6 separate regions of the Homo sapiens genome follow, and all the other regions are linked to region 1. The links are contacts of gene promoters, found by promoter capture Hi-C in blood cells and fetal thymus (Javierre and others, 2016). All regions are on one chromosome and are shown on one strand. The core of a region is centred on a gene start or on the middle of the fragment in contact, and the rest is flanking DNA. Distances in the headings are between cores, read along the strand shown.

Region 1 (3,082 bases), core at 402-2,901:
GAAGGAGATAACTAGCAAGGTTTTCACTGTTAGAGTTTGTTCAGAGCGGAACCTAAAGGAAATACTGGGAAGGTCACAGCAGTTTCATCTCAGCTTATTGGATTGGATCAAAGTAATTCTACTGCAAGGCAAGGTATATCATTCCATTTACAGACAGAGAATGCATGAAGTCCTTCATTTCACACAGTAGGTGTGAAGAAGGTACCTTGGTAAATTTCCTATTTGCTTTCAGATAAAGTGTATTCTTAAACATGATGTGGGTAGCTGCCTGTTTTTGTGTCGCCTCTGCAAGAGACATCTTGGAATAATAGAAACACCAGTGTCTGAATAGCCTAAAGTGGAGCTTACTTTTCTGTTAGGTGAGTCACCTTTAAAAATGATATTTTTTAAGGATAAGCGATGAATTTTAGGACGTTCTTCCCTCTACTTCCAACGTCCACAAGAATAAACCACCAAATTCAACGTTTTACAGAGGCCAAGTGCTTAGGTTTTGTGTGTTTGTTTTTAAGAGTTTTCTTGCAAGGAAACTGGGAGGGAACTATAAAAGGGCTTTAGGCAAACAGGGTGGGCGGGTGCAGGGCTTTAAGCTGCAGAAAGGAGAATCTGGAAAGAGCTTTTAGGAAGCAGATTCTCACATGTTTTAATATGAAAGAGTGGCACACGTGGTGCTGGCATTCCATCTTACCATCAGTGGAAGGTTTGAACCAACATCAAATTTTTCTGGAGCAACTTAGGTAATTATTACTTGAAGAATATGCATTTCAAAACTAACACCTTTAAGAGACAATGTAATTCACCTGCGCTTCCCCGCCCCCCCCGCCCGCGCCAACCCCACCCCCCGCCAACCCCGCCCCCGACTCCGCGAACGCCGAGGGGCCCGTGGTCTGCCTGAGTGACCTCCATTTGCTCTGTCATCTCAGGACTAGAAGCCATCAGCCAGCGTACGCCCTCAGAAAACTCTCTTCCCTTCTCGCGGGTCCGCCTGGCTCCCGGAGGCGGCGGTGCCAGGCTGCCGGAGTTAGCCAGCGGCAGGCTGCGGGCGCCCGTCCCTCCGGTTCACCCTTTCACCCCTCCTTCACCCCCGGAGCGCCAGGCGGGTGCCGCGGGTTTTCCGCCCACTCGGAAGGCAGTGCTGGCGAGACCAGGAATTGCAGGGCCTCTCCGCTTTGGCGAGCTCTGGAATCCGAGTCCTCCCCACCCCAGCCACTCTGCTGGGGCGCTAGGGGCTCGAAAAAGCCTGGGGTTGGCTGAAAGACACTCGGATTAGAGACGCAGCCAGCCTCCAGGGAGGTCTGAACTTGTCTTCGACCTCCCCGAACCCCTCCGCCTCTGCGCTGGGAGACGCCCAGCAGCCGGGCGGGCCCGGGACGTGTAGAGCCAGAGCACTCCGCAGCGGAGGCAGCGCGCGGCACGGCCGCCCGGGGCATCCCCGCGGCTGGGGGGCGGAAGGCGAGGGCGGTGGCAGGAAGGGTCCGCCAGGCCTGAGCTCGCTCCCCCACTGCCAGCCGCCGGCTCGGAGGCCCGAGCCGTGCGGACGGAAAGGGGCGGAGCCGCGGGCTCTGGTTGGTGTGGGCTCGGGGGCGGGGCGCGCGGGGCCGGGCCGGAGGCGGGGCTAGCGCCGGGCGCTGGAGCTGCGGGCGCACGGAGAGGAGTCGCCAGCAGCTGGAGCGGAGTTGGAGGAAGCAGCGGCAGCGGCGAGGGCGGCAGGCTAGCTGTCGGAGACGGCAAGCACGGATCGGGCACGGCCGGCGGGTCGCAGCCGGGCTGGAGGCCGGTCGGAACCGAGCGGGCAGGAGGCCACCGCTGCAGCGCGGGCCCCGCAGAGGAAGGAAGCCGGCGGGCGGGGTAGGTAGGCAGCAGCAGCCCCGGGTGTGTGTGCTCGGGCGGGGGAGGCGGTGCATGTGTGCACGGCTGCCGCGACTCTCTTCCTGTCACTGGCAGCGGCTTCTCCTTCTGCAGAGCCCCGCCGGGGGGAAGCGGGCTGGCCACCGGCCCTCCCCGCCTCCGGCATCTCCTGGCCGCCGGGCAGCACTACCCCCGCGCGCGGCCGGCGTCCTGTGAGATCCCCGCCATCCTGACTCCCGTTTCCCCCGTCCTCCTGCGAGCTGGTCCTGCACGCCGCCGGTCGCATTTGCCCCCGGAGTTGCCGACGAGCTCGGGCTTCCTCCCACCCTCCGTCACCGCACACTTCGGAGGGTCCCCGCTGTCGCCTTGCTGCAGTTTTCCGGGGCCCCTCACCGGAGGAGAGCGCCCTGGCCGCTGCCTTCGTGTTGCGGGAAGGAGCGCTCCCTTCCCCCGTGGCCCTCCAGCTGCAGCCAGGGTCGCTGCCCGGGCCCTTCCCGGGGCGGGCGAGGCGGCGGTGGTCCCCGGAGCTCGTCCCCTAACCCCCGCCTTCCGAAGTTTGCCGCCCTCCTCTTCCGGGGTGGGGGAAGTGCGCCTCGGGGCGGTTGGTCGCTGGGGCCCTAACTCAGCGTTTATTGCCAGCCAAGCTTGGGCAGGTTGTTGGAGGCATATTTAGTGGGGTCTTGGAACCGCCCGGAAATCCAGCTTTTGGAACGTGGGGCGAGGCGGGAGGGACCTGCCCAGCAATATGGAGCCGGCTGGGGAGAGCCAGGGAGCCTGCAACCCGGAGCTAAAATATCGTGGGCAATTCTCTGGAAACCACAGCTCTAACCTAAGCTCAGAAACTGCCCCTCAGATCACAAGACAAAGAGAACAGAAAACCTCTGGCCAGGCACTCCTGTACAGAAATACACTTTGATAACCAGAATTGGAGCCTGAAATGCAAGGATATATGCAGAATGGCTGTTACGTGTTGAATGCAGAATGTGTGTCAACTGGGTTTGGGGGAATTCTTCTGTTTCCCGGGGCGCTATTAATATCGGAAAGGTCTCACTTCCACCGTTAATCCCTTGAGCTGCAGCGCTGTTGGTGTCCGAGTGTGAGTCTGCTCTTTATTTGGGGGCTTCATGATTTTAGGTTTTTTTTCTTTTTTCTCTTCTTTTCCTCTTTGTCAGCCAGTGCGAAGTACCAATGGATAAAGCAGTTCCGGGTTTTGAATGCAACATAAGATTGTCATTTT
Region 2 (3,082 bases), core at 434-2,933, 950 kb before region 1:
GCATCAACCTTGTAAAAATGAAGACTAGTTGGATTCCAGTTGTTTAAGTCTAAGTTTCACAATAAGCAGTTGTAAAATATAACAGGGAGGAGGTTCCATTCACATAAAAGCAGACATGAAGAAAGCGAATGCATTATTGAGAGAAGACAAAGAAAACCCGAATATGTAGACACACTTTGCTTTTCCTGGAAGGAACAATTTACTCAAATTATAAGGTTATCAGTTCTTTCGAAATTATACCAATAGTGTAACAAAATTCTAACCATAAAAAATTTTTTTTGAAAACAGAATAATTTTTAAATACATTTAAATGAATAAACAGTTGGTAATAATGAAGAGAAAACTGCCATCTGAGACATTAATATGGCTTATAAAGCTATAATAATGAAAATAGATAATAGTGGCATAGGAATCAGGACAAAAGTCTATGAAATGGAGCAGTAATTCTAGATATAAACAGAACTATATATAATGTTTTAGTATAAAATACAGATCTAATTTTAAATGAGTTATGGATTGACAGATTGTATAGTAAATATTGTTGTGACATTTGGCTTAATAAATTACATCTTACATCAAAAAATGCTGCATAATTTAAACATTTCAATTTAAAAAATAGTTTGGAAGTACAAGAAGAAAATTTAGGTGAGTATTTTTATAACTTTGAAGTAGAGATTCTTTTTAAAGATATCAACAATAGAAATCAAAGAAGAAAGACAAAAATTTAAGTTATCTGCAATTAAAACAATTAAAAATTAAAAGAAAATGAAATAATCTGGGGAAATATACTGGACACATTATTTTGGCAAGCAATTACTATACAACAAGCCCTGAAAGAAAAATAAACTATTGACATGAGTAGGGATTTCACAAAAGGCGTGATACTAATCCCAAAGAACATAGGAAAAATGTTTCACCCAGTAATAATTAAGGAAGACAAATAAAGCGTCGGTGAGATCTTATTATTTCCCCATTCAAATTGGCAAAGACGATAAAATGCCTATATCCAATGCTGATAATTGTGTGCAGAAAAGGGGGGTTTAATACATTGCTGTGGGAATGAACATTCATATACTTTCGCCAGGGAATTTGGCAATATGTGAAAAATGTACATTTCGTTTCTAGGAATTTATCCTAAAGAGATAAAAGTGTGTGTAAGAATGTACCTGTTAGAATATTTATCACAGTACTCTGTATAAGACCCATGATGTCCAAGAATTGCTTACATACATTATGGTACAGGGATAACCATGGAAACCAGTATTAAATATGATGTGGTAGAAATGTATTTATTGATGTAGAAAGACCTCCACAAGGTATTTCAAATGAAAATACAAAGCTTATACAACAGTACATGAAGCATGATCTCCATCCTCCTTTTTTGTTAAATTGTGAATATATGTAGAGTGTATGTTTGTAGAAGAGATTTTGTAAAGTTATCCCTGAGCGAATATGGATATACAGCTGACCTTGAACAACACAGAGGGTAAGAGAGCTGACCCCAACCACAGTTGAAAATCCTAGTATAACTTTTGATTCCCTCCAAATTTAGCTATGAATAGTCTACTGTTGACTAGAAGCCTGACTGATAGCATAAAGAACTGATTAACACATATTTTGTATGCTATATGTATTATATACTACATTCTTAAAGTAAGCTAGGGAAAAGAAAATGTTAAGAAAATCATAAGGAAGAGAAAATATATTTACCATTCACTGAGTGAAAGTGGGCCATCATAGAGGTCTTAATCATCATCATCTTGTTGAGTGGGCTCAGGAGGAGGAAGAAGGGAAGGGTTTTGGGCGTGCTGTCTCTGGAGTGGCAGAGGGGAAAGACAATCCACTTGTAAGTGGGCCCATGCAGTTCAAACCATGTTGTTCAAGGGTCAGCTATAGTTGTTTTTGTTCTCCTTTTTAATGTGGCTAATTAAAAAAATTTCTATTATCAACCTATTTGAAAGTGTGGGCTCTGGATTCAGGTGGACCTGTGTATATCTTGACACCAGGAGAGTTAACTAACATAACCTGAAGCTTTCAACTATAAAACGTATATGCAGTTGTACACAACATAATGACATTTTGATCAATGACAAAATGCTTATACATAGGTGTATCATATGCTTATACATAAGATTATAAAGGAGCTGAAAAATTTATATCACACAAATACTTACCATTGTGTTACTATTTCCTTACACTATTTAGTACAGTAACATGCTGTGCGGGTTTTCAGTCTAGGAGCAATAGGCTGTACCATATAGCCTAGGTGTGTAGTAGGCTATATACCATCTAGGTTTGCATAAGTATACTCCACGATGTTTGCACAACAACAAAATTGCGTAACAATGCATTTCTCAGAACATATCCCTGTCATGAAGTGACTCGTGACTATATTTCTTATTTCTCGCCTGTGTCAAAGAGTGTCACCATGCAGGTTGCCAACAGCCAGGGCAATGCAATGATCACTTTGGGAGGATGATAAAACTACCCTGAAATTACTGTTTCAGGGTATAATTCCTGAGAGTGCCACATCCTCTACAGTTTCAGTTGATCAGCTGGGAAACTAGTTGATTTTGGAGAAAAATAGGCTAGGAATAGCATCTGTAAACACTTTTAAGTAGTTTTAATGTTTTCCTACATGATGGATAAGCAAGATATAGCATATTAAAGCAACAGCGAGAGAATTTAAAAATTTGATTTGCTTCAAAGGGTTTGTGATACAAACACAGTGCATGTGATTCCTTCTGAAATATGCCCTGAAAGGGGCAGGAACCAGTCTGTGGGTTATTTATCCCCAAAGGTGTCTTTGTTCAGACCCATGGTCACGCCATTCATGTTTCAAGAAATAATATTTTCCAAAGTGGTGCCTCTTAAGCTTTTGTTTAGTTATACTTCTAGTTCTCTGGGGCTGAAGGTAAGAAGGGAGGATTAATTATGCCTCAGATGAATGTCCTTTTGCCATTAAACTCTTGGCTCCTTACTCTGCTTTTCTTCTCTTGCTCAATTTCTTCTTTCTTCACCTTATCTGTGAAACACATTAATCTCCTATTATCAGTTTTTCATGCAGTAATAGATAGACTTG
Region 3 (3,082 bases), core at 325-2,824, 890 kb before region 1:
TCCCATGAGTCCTGTCAGTTAAATAAAAGATATTAAGATTAAAAGTCCTATAATGTCAAACAATTTCTGTCTTGAGGACTTGGTTTGTCTTCTGGGTGTATGATGCCATCGGAATATCTCACTCCTATTCTTACTGGCCTCATCATCTTGGTGAATTTATAGCTGTGGCTACTTAAGAGAGTGATAGCATTAGGCCACACAATGAATTGTTGATTTAAAATGAGTATTGATTAGAACCCAATCAATGAATAATAAGAAAAAATATATATTTTTTTCTGTGTAGAAGGAGGTTAGTGTTATTTAGGAATGGAATAATAAGCCTCTGGGTTTTGTTTGATTTCTGTTTTTCTATGTCTGGACAAGACTGAGACTTGTATTCACAGTATCCTGTGGCATCAATCACATTCTGCTTTGTACTGAGGCTGTTTTGCAACAGTCACTGAGATGGTTTGGCTCTGTGTCCCCACCTAAATCTCATCTCAAGTTGTAATCTCCACGAATTTTAATCCCCATGTGTCAGGGCAGAGATCTTGTGGGAGGTGATTGGATCATGGGGACGGTTTCCCCCATGCTGTTCTCATGATAATGAGTGAGTTCTCATGAGAAATGATGGTTTTAAAAGTGTTTGGCGGGTCCCCCTTTGCTCTCTGTCTCTCCTGCCGCCATGTGAGATGTGCCATGCTTCCCCTTTGTTTTCTGCCATGATTGTAAGTTTCCTGAGGCCTCCTCAGCCACGTGGAACTGTGAGTAATTAAACCTCCTTTTAAAATAAATTACCCTGTCTCAGGTAGTATCTTCAGAGCAGTGTAAAAATGGACTAACACACTCACTTTTTTTTTTTTTTTTTGACGTAGAGTCTCACTCTGTTGCCCAGGCTAGAGGGCAGTGGTGGAATCCCAGCTCACTGCAACCTCTGCCTCCCAGGTTCAAGCAATTCTCCTGCTTTAGCCTTCTGAGTAGCTGGGACTACAGGCATGCACCACCACATCTGGCTAATTTTTGTATTTTTAGTAGAGATGGGGATTCACGATGTTAGCCAGGCTAGTCTTGAACTCCTGGCCTGAAGTGATCCGCACACCTCGGCCTCCCAGAGTGCTGGGATTACAGGAATAAGCCACTGTGCCTAGCCTACACTCGCTTTTTCACCTAGATTTTAATCTGCTTGAGGTCAGTGATGGTTTGTAGTATCCCTTACAGAGTCTTGAATTTAGTAATTCATGCTCTTGATTGCATAATAACTGAAATTTCTAGTAAATTATCCAAGGTTAGCTAAGGTTGCATTTTAATTTCCTCAGGACTCTGAAGCTTTGTAGAAGCATTCTGACACCTTGCCTTGAATCACATTTCAATAAATATTCTTATAAACTATTTCCAAGGAGGTGAACTTTTTTGAGTGTCATATGTAAGGAACCATATGAGAATAACATTAGCACCCCCAGTGACACTAAAGATATGTTCCAAGCATGCCTGATTACAAAGCCCATTGATTATGTCTGCAAATGTCCTGGATCTTTGAAGAAAGTATAACCACTTATATACTTGCTTCCTTTGAGCAGAGTCCTTTATTTGTTTGGAAAACACTGGTTCATGTGCTACTCTGAAAACAGGGTTAAGACTAGGGAATTGACAGGGAGGATTCAGAATTGCTTCTGGAAAGAAAGGCATTCAAATTCTCTTGGAATGAAGTTTTAGTTAAATCACAACTCTTTATTTGGTCCTGCATAGTCAGCACCCAGGTTTCTTTTGAAGTATAGTCCTAGGAGCTGTTAGTACCAGTGACCTTCTAAAGTCATGCCAAGGCTTAGCAGAGAGAGAGTGCTGGAGCTCAGACTAAAGACTATGAGAAGCTTGAACATATTCTGAGGAGCCGTCTTTGTCTGGTTCTGTTTTTTATGGTTGCTTTGAGCCATGAGCCCCCAGATGTTTAGCTGAGCCTTGAAGACAGTGGTGTTTGAATCAAGGACTCCATTGGTCACCCTCAGCCCAATGGACTCTTCAATGTAAACCAGGTGGAGGACTGTATTACCACTAACATACACAACATTTGCTTCTTTTTATACCTTTGGAGGTTACATCCTTCCTCCTCATTTCAAAATATTGGATTCAAAGGGCATGTGTCTGTTTTTATGTTTCTTTGGTGATGGGATAGAGATATGTGTGATCACACGTATTGCTTTTCTCCTTTGAATCCTGAACTTTCAAACCCTTTCTAAGGATATCACAATGAGTCCAGGCTGCCTAATACTTCTTCCCCAGACCCTCTCCAGGATTTTGAGCCAAGTGTCCTCAAGGGAACTGTGTACCCATCATGCCTGAATGGAGGAGAGAAAAATGTACCCTCTAGACATTGCAGTGGATGTCATGAATGCTCAGAACATTGATGCCTTTGCATCAATCTTGCTTAGTGCTAAAAGAGTGAAATTGGAATCTTCCTAACACAAATAAATGACAAATGCTTGTGGTGATAAATACCCCTATTGCCTTGATTTAATCATTACTCATCATATGCTTGCATCAAAATATCACATGTACCCCATAAATATGTACAGCTTTTATGTATCCATAATAATTAAAAATAAAAAATTTAAAAATCTTGTTTAGTGCTTTCATTAGGGGAATCTGCCCATGCGGGTGGTCTCCTAATGCATAGAGGTTCCTCGCCACCCCTCCCTGTCCAAGGCTAGATATGAATATGCATGAATTTGACTATAATTAGGTCACAGAAGAGTGATATGATGCTGTGAATCATATCATTACCAGGGGAAATGATATATGGTACTGCTTTTGACAGAAACAATGTTTCATCCACATTTGGAGCTTCTTGCTTTCATTTGCCAGGCGATTGTAAAGGAAGGTCTAGTATAAGGCAGAAATACCTACCTTCTCTTGAAAATAGGTCTCTCTCAGGGACAGACATTATCTGGCATGGGAGGACTTGCTTTCTTGTGCCAATGGTGATTAAACAACAGCAACTAGAAAATAGCCTTGGTACATAGTGCCTGTTGCCATGTCTCATTATTGTCAGAATGTCTTAAATTGCCCAGGGGTGTTTTTTCCTTGTTGTTATAGGTTTAATTATGGC
Region 4 (3,082 bases), core at 277-2,776, 850 kb before region 1:
AGTGGGCCAGCCTTCACATGTAACTCCACACTGCTTTCGGAATCCAGTACGTTCATTCAGAAGGCTGTGAGTGAACTCTACACTACACACTCATAGTTAAGTTATACAGGAGGCCCTAGGAAATGACACACAACTAAAGTAACACAGCCACTTGCAGTATATTATTTCATCTCTCTGATTGCTACCATAATATGTATTGAACTAATACTCACTGATTGCTCCTTCTCTGTGTCCTTTGCTAGTTTGTCCATATCTTCCAGATCTCCATGCTTTCCAGGGCTAGGATCCACTTCTCTCTATCTGATTCTTTTACTGAGCTATCTTATCACAGGTCACCAAATACCATCTGGAAGCTGGTGACTTCCAAAGGTAAATCTTCAACCCAACTTCTCCTCCAAACTCCAGGCTCATATCTAATGGCCTCCTTGACATTTCCTCTTGATTTCTAATAGACTTTCTAAACCCAATATGTTCAAAATGGACTGACTTCCTAATCACCAACCTTCCACCTTCCATCAGCCTATTTCTTTTCTGTATCTTAGTAAAAATCTGTCCAGCTTCTCAGACTAAATAAATTTTGAATTATCCTTTACTTCTCTCTTTTTATTACTGTCCACATCTAAACCATCAACACATTATATTAGTTCTATCTCTAGAATATATCTGGAATCCAACCACTTTTCACCATGTATTTCTGTATCATCTGAGTCTGAGCCACTGTCGTCTCTCATCACCCTTACACAGCAACCAGAGTGATCCCTTTAAATGAGATTTAAAAGACATTACGTTCTGCTCAAAACCCTCCAGTGGGTTCCTTATCACTTGGAACATAAGTGAAAATTCTTACAATGGCCAACGATACTCCCTGCTCCTACCACCACCCTATCTCTTCTTTGACCATATCTCTTCCTATTCTTCGTCTGGCTCACTTCACTCCTCCCACACTCATCTCCCTGCTAGTCATTGAACATATCAGGCACACTTACTAAGAAGCTTTGTTAAAACACAGATTTCTTCCATGCAGAAGGTCTGGGGTGTGACTGGTTAATTTGCATTTTTAGAAATGCAAATTGTTAGAAATACAAACCTAGAAAGGTTCTAGGTGATCTAACTACGTGGTGCTATGGTGATGAACCAAATCTCTGGGTGAGTGGATGGAAGCTCTGACTTACTGTGTTTGCTGATTTCTGTGATGTGAATGCTTCCACCACAGCCAATATCAAACTGATCAACTGGATCACACAATTCCTGAAGATTTAACAATCGGCTATCACGAGTGCACCACCATAGCCTCTGGTCCAGAAGAGCTCTCCAGGGCCTACTTGGGGGAAAGAGTGAGGAAGGGAGCAATTATCTATTGAGCATTTATGATATGCCAGTCACTGTTCTGGTCCTTGACATAAAATGTTTCACTTGGTCCTCAACAAATGTATGAGATTATGTTTTGCAATTTTAGTTTTTTAGAGGAGGAAACTGAGAAGTAAAATTACTTGAGTCACACCCCTGAGATTTGAAACTAGAAACCCAAAGTCCTTCTCCTTCTAAAACAAAACACAACAAAACAATACCTTGGGCCTCTTTGGGTGGCACCATATCACTGAGGACATCACTGTAGGGCTGGGGGATGAAAGATGGGAGAAGCTGAAGGTAACCTATGGCATAGATATAGTCTGACCTTAAAGGTGACAAAATATTGTCCAATTGAGTTTTTAGAAGGAAGCTGTGATGAGTAAACCTATACTTGAAGTAGGTTAACCACGTGGGGGCTGCAGCTCTCTGAGCTAATCACAGCCAATGAGCCAAGTGCAGCTAGAGAACATGTTCCCTTCCCTGGTTACTGCCTGATAATCCAGGAACTAGTAATTTCAGATCAAAGGAGACTGCAAAGCTCATATATTGAGAATTCTGATGCCAGGTGCTAAAATAACCTTCCTTTGAGGGCAAGTAAATTCCCTCAATTGATGGAACAGAAGTTGCTCCAGGCAAAGGTCCCACTTGTTCCTCTGCTTAATTGCCTTGCTACCCTCCTTCTGGATGGAGCTTCAATCACTGTATTTCCTAAGCTTGGAACCCCTGGGACAGGTTTCCACTGGCATGCTTTTTAAGCAACTGGGGTGATTATCCAGGCATCAAAATTGCTTTCCTCGGGCTTTTTTTAAAAGCCAAGTTTAGTTTCTGCTCTTCTGAATCGTCTGGAACACTGCCCTCTGCCTCACCATCCTGTGCCAGTGGAGACCTGGTCTCAGGCTGGGCAGCTGAGCTACCTGGCCTAAACAAAAAGGCTCCAGGCCCTAAAGGTTACAGACCTTATGCTGACCCAAGAGTCCAAGGCAATGCAAAGCAAAGTCCAGGGTGATGAAAATGAAGTTGCATTTTCTGAGCTGCCTTGTTCTTCACAGTTTTTATTAGATTATTTTATGGAGAGCTCTGGACTCTTGCAGCCCCTGAGGCATTTCGATGGAGCTTAAAGTGGCAGAGGAAAAGTAACCCTGAAGAGGAACAGGGAAGGCTCCATCTCTCTTCTGTAGATGGGCAAGCAAAGGATATTCCATTTCTTTCGTCATTACACATTCATTCATTTATTCACTCACTCATTCATTCAAATGCCGTTAGAGCAAGTACAGTGGAAAACTAGAGGAAGGAGACATTACTCTGTAGATGAGAGAACACTTCTTGGAAAGCTTTAAGAATAGCTTTTCGAGATATAGTTATGAGGACATGCTAGGTGGGAGGAAGGGAGAGACCCAAGGCTCAGAACCTCCAAATGTCAGAATGTGTGTGTGTGTGTGTGTGTGTGTGTGTTTAACCCATTCTGAAGGACAAGAATCAAAGCCACCAAAATGTGGAATTCTTTTAACTTGTTATGTTTCATCTAAGCCCTTCTTACAGTCCTCAGGACGGACTGAGAAATGTGCTGCCATTTCCTTTTCTCCTCGTAAGGCCTCCTGTACCTCAAAGCCAAAAAGCAGAAATGGATATAAGGTTTTGTCTGACATGAATCTGCTTAGAGAGAGTGAAGGCTAACTTTTGGAGTTCATATGACTACTTCTTACCTGCAGGGGGTTCTTTGAGAGGACCTAAT
Region 5 (3,082 bases), core at 201-2,700, 720 kb before region 1:
TTACTGGTTTAGAATGGCGTATTTTCTTAGCTATATTAATTCTGTTAAAAATAATTCATCTTCCACTTTTGTTTTTCTTTCTCCCATTGAAACTGCAAAGACGTTAAATAGAAAAGCAGTAGATTAAATTAATTTCTTATCTGGGGAGAAGTTATTAAATGTTACACGGTTATAGTCATAATAAATAGCATATGTAATATAGGAAACTTCATATGATTACTGGTATACCTCATGGCATTCTAAGATAAGGTTCTCCCTTGAAATGAAAAATACGTACTCTTAATAAACCATTTGGGAATTGCTGCTGGAAGTATTTGTTGGATTGACTGGAGTAGCACTTCTGTAGTTGACACATATACAGCGTAGCCTTGCCAAGAAAGCCACGTTTTACCATACCACAGAAGTTTTCTTGAGCTTGCTCACTCTTTGCCAACCCAGTTAATCCCCAAAGAGAACCATTTGTTGAGGACAGCAGCTCCCTAACCTCACAGATCCTAGGCTTACCATAGGCACACAGGATTCTGTAGTCAGCACAGCAAAAGAGTCCTTGCAGGCAGCACCAGCTGGTGGCACTGTCATATTGCCATGAACAGTCTTCTCTGATTGGTGATCCCAGAAAGGCAGGAGGAGGAAGAGCCATCACTGGGACACAGGTTTTCTACCACAGCAGGGCAGCAGCTATGTCCATCTATACCAACCACTCGTGGCCAAGGCAGTGCCTGGACATATGTGTTCCTACACTTTCCTTTGATCTTCCGGGGGATTTTTACTTAATTGTCTCATTTCCTACAACAAATCTTAAACTTTCCCTATAGTAGAAAAAGGGGAAACAGTTTTCACCAGTTCTGGCACAAGCTTTGCCTCTGGTGGCATCAGTTCTCTCCAGCTGCTTTGCTGGTCCCACTGTCAGAGGTGGCATGCCAGCTCTGCATTATTTACACCTGGGTCAGGCAGCTTGCCCTCGAACCTGACTAGCTGACGGGGCAACCTGGGAGTGGAACTCGACGCCATGATCTGCAGCTCCTGCGTGTGATTTGAGATGCCAAGCATGTGTGCACAGTGTCTGTAATGAATCATCTTTTTGTATTGTGCTGGTTGGGCCTTGTCTTGCCAAGCACCACTTACAGCCTTTGTTGGCGGGGCCTGTTACCTTCGCTTACACCACATGATGTGCTTAAGGATCACTTATCCAAGCAACATGGCCTCTCTTCACTGAGGCAACCGAACCTCTTACATTTCAATATCTCTCCGACTGGTGAAAAATAAGCCCTTCAGCAGGGCCAGTGTCTTTAGAGCTCAGAGCCACACTGCTCTGCAGCTCTGCAGGCTTTGCTGAGTCCTTTGAGGGGATCAATAGGAGCCGGGTGGCATGGTTCCTGGCCCTGGCACGGACCCTTCCCGTAATGTGATAATCCCAGCAGGCCGGCCCTGAGGAGGAGGCGGCCAGCATGCTGTCCTTAGAAATCAACTTCTGACCTCCTGGCTTTCTTCCCCTTTCCCCAAAACTATTTTGTTTAAAATGCTAGCTTCTCTGTCATAAATTATTCTTTAGTTAAGGGGTTTGGCTCCTGTGTGAGTTACTGTGGTTTGAGAAGAAAAAGGAAAAAGAAAAAGGAACATCTTAGTGTAGCCAAGACCCAAACCCTAACCAAGAAAAAGTGGAAACAGGCTGGGAAAGGTAAAGTAGCAGGCAGGGAGTGGGTTTTTATTCACACGCTGTTTTAAACGGTGCAGCTCATTACTTGTTGATAATGTGCATTTTAGAAGTGTCTTTTCTGTACCCGAACTTCTCCAGGGAGTGGGCTAAGAAGAATATGCGTTTTGATGGTAGCAGTGGATTCTTTGGGTTATCACCCTGCTTAGAGCTGCTTCTCTAACATGCCCCTGAAAGTCCAGAAACAGGCCAGGGACCAGAACTTCTCAGACAGAAGTTTTCCTGAGGTCCACAGAGATCATGGCCATGAGTAGAACAAGAGCAAGTGGCATGGATCCAACAGTGTGACCAGGAGAGCATGTCAGTGGCATCTCCACTTGATTTTGCAGAGAAAGCTTTTGTTTGTGATTTAGCTGGCATTTTCCGTGCCATTACTGGTTGTTCAGCAGGAAAACAAAAATTAACCCAATGTCCAATCCAATTTAATGTTTTACTCTTAATTCCAATCATTTAAAAACTCCCTTCACATAGTATAAAGTCTCTTTTGAATAAAAATGCTCAGTCTTTCCAAAGCCTCCTCCTCCCTCATTGCTCTCTTTTCAGTGGCCTCTGGTTGTGTGAGGCCTTGGGAGGAAATAGGCTCCTAGCTTCTGGCTTACCCTTATGCATAGTGACTGGTAGTAGCAGCAGGTCTCCTAGGCACTGTGCCTTGACCCCCGGGTGGTCCTGGCCTCACTGGCTCCATATTCTGCAGCAAAGAAGTATGTGGCCTCTTCTTTTGGCTTTGAATGTTTCGCGGAGCCTCCACCACCTTCTTGTTGCTTTGGCCTCCCATCATGCTCCCTAGCTGTGGAGCTTCACCCTCTGGCCTCAGTACCCCCTGCCTTTGCAAGAGCACCTTGCCTGTCCCTAGTAGGGTCCCCAGCAGGCCCATTCTCTCCCAACTCAGCATGCAGGCTACTGGGGGTTGAGACCAGCTGAAGAGCCAAGCTCAGGGCCTCTCTTGACCCCACTGGGATGCCTTATCTGGCTTAGGGGTACCTGGCAGCCTGAGAGGTAGCACCTTCTCAGAGACCATGGTGGGCAGCCAGGCAAAAGCCACCTGACTTCTTTGTTCTGTCTCATGTCTCCCACCATTGGGAACAAAACCCAGGGAGGGGCAGCCAGAAGACACATGTCTGATTGCTGTTCCTTCCTGCCTAGGTGTCGCCTTATTTTTTCCCAGGGAAGAGATCAAGGAGTGAAATATCCCTGCATTTCTGTCTTCCTGTTTGTTCTAATTAAGCCTTCAACAAGGGTACTTGGCATATCACTTCTATCACAGAAGACATCAATTAGCTGGGCTTCCTAGGATGGCTCTCCACCTGCCAAAGGAATAGAACAAAGGAATTAAGCAAAGCCTCTCCTTCCACAAAGCCTGGTATTAAA
Region 6 (3,082 bases), core at 426-2,925, 700 kb before region 1:
TGAAATATTACGCAACCATAAAAAAGAACAAAATCATGTCCTTTTTAGCCACATGGATGGAGCTGGACACCATTATCCTAGGCAAACTAATTCAGAAACGGAAAAAAGAAATACCACATGTTTTCACCTATAAATGGGAGCTAAACATTAAGTACACACAGACATACAAAAGAGAACAATAGACATGGGGGCCTACTTGAGGGTGGAGAGTGGAAGGAGGGTAAGGATCGAATAACTACCTATTGGGTACCATGCTTATTACATGGGTGAGGAAATAATCTGTACACCAAACCCCCATGACACATAATTTGCCTGTGTAACAAATCTGCACGTCCCCCTGAAACTGAAAGTTTTTTTTTTAAGATGTGCAAAAGTTCTGAAAAAACTCCTCACTTAGAAGATACACAGATGGCAAATAAGCATATGGAAAGATGCCCAACATTACATGTCACTAGATTATTGCAAATTAAAACAATGAGATACCACTACCCACATACTAGAATGGGTAAAATTCAAAATACTGACAAGACCAAACCACTGGCAAGGATGTGAAACAGTGGGAACTCTCATTCGTTGCTGGAGGGAATGCAAAATGGTATAGTCACTTTAGAAGGCAGTTTGGCAGTTTCTTACAAAGCCAAACAGTCTTGCCATACAATCCAGCAATTGGACTTTGAAGTATTGATCCAATTTAGTTTAAAACTTATGTCCATACAAAAACCTGCACAGATGTTTATGGCATTGTTACTCATAATGGCTAAAAATTGGAAGCAACTAAGGTGTCTCTCAATAGGGGAGTAAATAAAGGAACTGTGTTAAATCCACACAACAGGATATTACTCATCTCTTAAAAAAAATGAGCTATCAAGCCATAAAGAGACATGGAGGAAACTTTAATACATGTTGTTAAGTGAGAGAAGCCAATCTGAAAAGGCTATACTATATTATATGATTCCAACTATATTATGTTCTGGAAAAGGTAAAACTATAGAGACAGGAAAAAAAGATTAAGTGGTTGCCAGGGGTTGGTAGGTAGGTAGAGGGATGAATAGGTAAAGTACAGACAATTTTTAGGGCAGCAAAAATTATTCTGTATGTTGCTGTAATGGTGGATACATGACACTAACATTTGACAAACCTATGTAACTGCACAACACAAAGAGTGAACCCTTGATGTCAACTATGGATATTCATTAATAATAATGTAGCAATATTGGTTCATTAGTTTCAACAAATGAACCACATGAATGCAAGATATTAATCACAGGAGAGATTGTGTGTGAGAGAAGGGTTATATGAGGACTCTTCTCTTTAAATTTTCTATAAACTTAAATTTTCTCTAAAAATAAAGTTTATTAAAAAAGAAAAAAATAATAAAATAAATGCAAAAATCAACAAGTCAGAAGACAGAAATACTATAAAACTAAAAGCTGGGTTTTTGAAAAATAAAACAATAAAATAGATAAGCTACTAACCAACCTAATTTTAAAAAATGAGGGAGAAATGGTAAATATAACACAATTAGGACAAAAGAGAAATAATCATGGACACAGAAAAAATTAAAATAACTTAAAGCAACTACTTACAATAGCTCTATGGAAATAACTTTGAAAATGTAAACTAAGTAGATGAGTTTTTAGAAAAAAATGCAGGTGACTAAAATTGACCCCAGTGGAGACAGTCTACACAGACAAATGATCTTAAATAGAGAAAGTAACTGAATACACCCCCATAAAGAGAAGATCTCCAGATTGTTTCATGGAAGAATTCAACCAAGTCTTTAATAATAACATAATTATAATGCTACTTAAATTATTTCAAATCATGAAAGAGAAAAAAATTAGAATTTATTTTTATGAAGTAGGTATTACATTGATCTCCAAAGCTGACCATGCTATACCAGAAAAGAAACAACAGACTAGTCATATGAATTTTGGATACAATAGTCTTAAATAAAACTAAATACTAATGAACAGACTCCATTGGTACATTTAAAAAGAAGTATGAACAAGTGGGTTTCATATTAGAAAAAACATCAAGAGTTCATCCTGTTAATAAAGCAACACTACAAAATCATTTTGATTATTTCCACAGATGCAGAAAAGGCAACATCAAAGGACATTGGTGTCAAGAACAATCAGTAAAATGAATTGATGGATACTTCTGTAATATGATAAAACACATACCTATAACATAACTCTACCTTAGGATCCAGAAATTCCATTAAATAATCATCAACAGATATTGTTGTAGATTCATTCAATAGACTATTGTGCAGTAGTTAATAGGAACTAGCTAGGGCTAAATAGACTGGCTATGCACTTACCTGCTAATTTCTATCTGTGTGACCTTGGCAAATCTGCTTAATTTCCCTGAGCTTTGATTTGGTGTTTCTATCTGTAAAATGGAGATAATGATATCTACCTTCCAGTGCTGCAGTAAGAATTAGAATTAACATATGTGTAAAGCTCTTTGCACAGTGTGAAACCTGGCAGGCACTCAGATGATGATCTGAGAAGTGCACTAATGCTGCCAAGTTTATTTAACTAGGTTATAGCAAGCGGATTAAATAGAGCTTTAATAATAAGGTAAAAGTTACCAGATCCTTTTCATAATGTTGCCTTAGCTGAAATTCATATCTCTTATTGCTTGAATTACAACAACCTCCTGTCTGATCTTCTTGACTCCAGTCTTTCTTCTTATCAAAGTCTGGATGTATAGGGGGAACAGGAGAAAATCAAAATGTGATGTCAAGATTCTAAAATCAGAGGGTTGTGAAATCAATTTAGTAGGCCAAAGCCAGAATTTTAAACAATAAAATAGATTAGAAAATGTCAGTGCATTCTATATAGTAAAATTACATGCTCTTTTGTGAAACTATTTTTTTAAGTTCTATTTCTATGTATGCCTACCGAATTTTGATGTGAGAGCATTTACTGTGGGTGACAAAGTTTGATAGTCTCGGCATATTGTCCATTCTCTATAAGTCAGCTGGAGTGATCTACTCTACTTGACAATATGTCAAGCCATTAGTTTTCAAAGAAGTGACATCTTGTCGGTAATGAAGATCCCTTTAGATAGG

Evidence for each region. The method cuts DNA at HindIII sites, captures the fragments that hold promoters and counts their contacts. A CHiCAGO score of 5 or more calls a contact.
Region 2: a contact is called between a fragment that was not itself captured here and the fragment with the promoter of PIK3R1 in region 1, in 4 of 17 cell types (fetal thymus, M0 macrophages, erythroblasts and 1 more). The highest score is 7.7, in fetal thymus.
Region 3: a contact is called between a fragment that was not itself captured here and the fragment with the promoter of PIK3R1 in region 1, in 1 of 17 cell types (M0 macrophages). The highest score is 5.4, in M0 macrophages.
Region 4: a contact is called between a fragment that was not itself captured here and the fragment with the promoter of PIK3R1 in region 1, in 1 of 17 cell types (M1 macrophages). The highest score is 5.8, in M1 macrophages.
Region 5: a fragment that was not itself captured here is called in contact with the fragment with the promoter of PIK3R1 in region 1 in 1 of 17 cell types (naive CD4 T cells); the score reaches 6.8 in naive CD4 T cells.
Region 6: a contact is called between a fragment that was not itself captured here and the fragment with the promoter of PIK3R1 in region 1, in 2 of 17 cell types (total CD8 T cells and fetal thymus). The highest score is 6.9, in total CD8 T cells.

Annotation. Positions count from the first base shown.
Region 1 is chr5:68,214,105-68,217,186 of GRCh38, forward strand. PIK3R1 (phosphoinositide-3-kinase regulatory subunit 1) reads left to right here and starts at 1,652. Exons shown (of 16, transcript NM_181523.3): 1 at 1,652-1,845. RefSeq lists silencers at 829-1,048, 1,269-2,368. The HindIII fragment of the contact is 2,835 bases long and covers 1-2,487 here.
Region 2 is chr5:67,260,056-67,263,137 of GRCh38, forward strand. No RefSeq gene overlaps it. Among named protein-coding and RNA genes, the nearest start is that of TILRLS, 6.4 kb to the right of the region's middle. The HindIII fragment of the contact is 692 bases long and covers 1,338-2,029 here.
Region 3 is chr5:67,320,870-67,323,951 of GRCh38, forward strand. No RefSeq gene overlaps it. Among named protein-coding and RNA genes, the nearest start is that of TILRLS, 54 kb to the left of the region's middle. The HindIII fragment of the contact is 542 bases long and covers 1,304-1,845 here.
Region 4 is chr5:67,362,504-67,365,585 of GRCh38, forward strand. The region is part of intron 1 of LOC124900989 (a long non-coding RNA gene); the gene reads right to left. Among named protein-coding and RNA genes, the nearest start is that of TILRLS, 96 kb to the left of the region's middle. The HindIII fragment of the contact is 1,070 bases long and covers 992-2,061 here.
Region 5 is chr5:67,493,290-67,496,371 of GRCh38, forward strand. No RefSeq gene overlaps it. Among named protein-coding and RNA genes, the nearest start is that of LINC02242, 150 kb to the right of the region's middle. The HindIII fragment of the contact is 1,194 bases long and covers 854-2,047 here.
Region 6 is chr5:67,509,594-67,512,675 of GRCh38, forward strand. No RefSeq gene overlaps it. Among named protein-coding and RNA genes, the nearest start is that of LINC02242, 140 kb to the right of the region's middle. The HindIII fragment of the contact is 6,690 bases long and covers 1-3,082 here.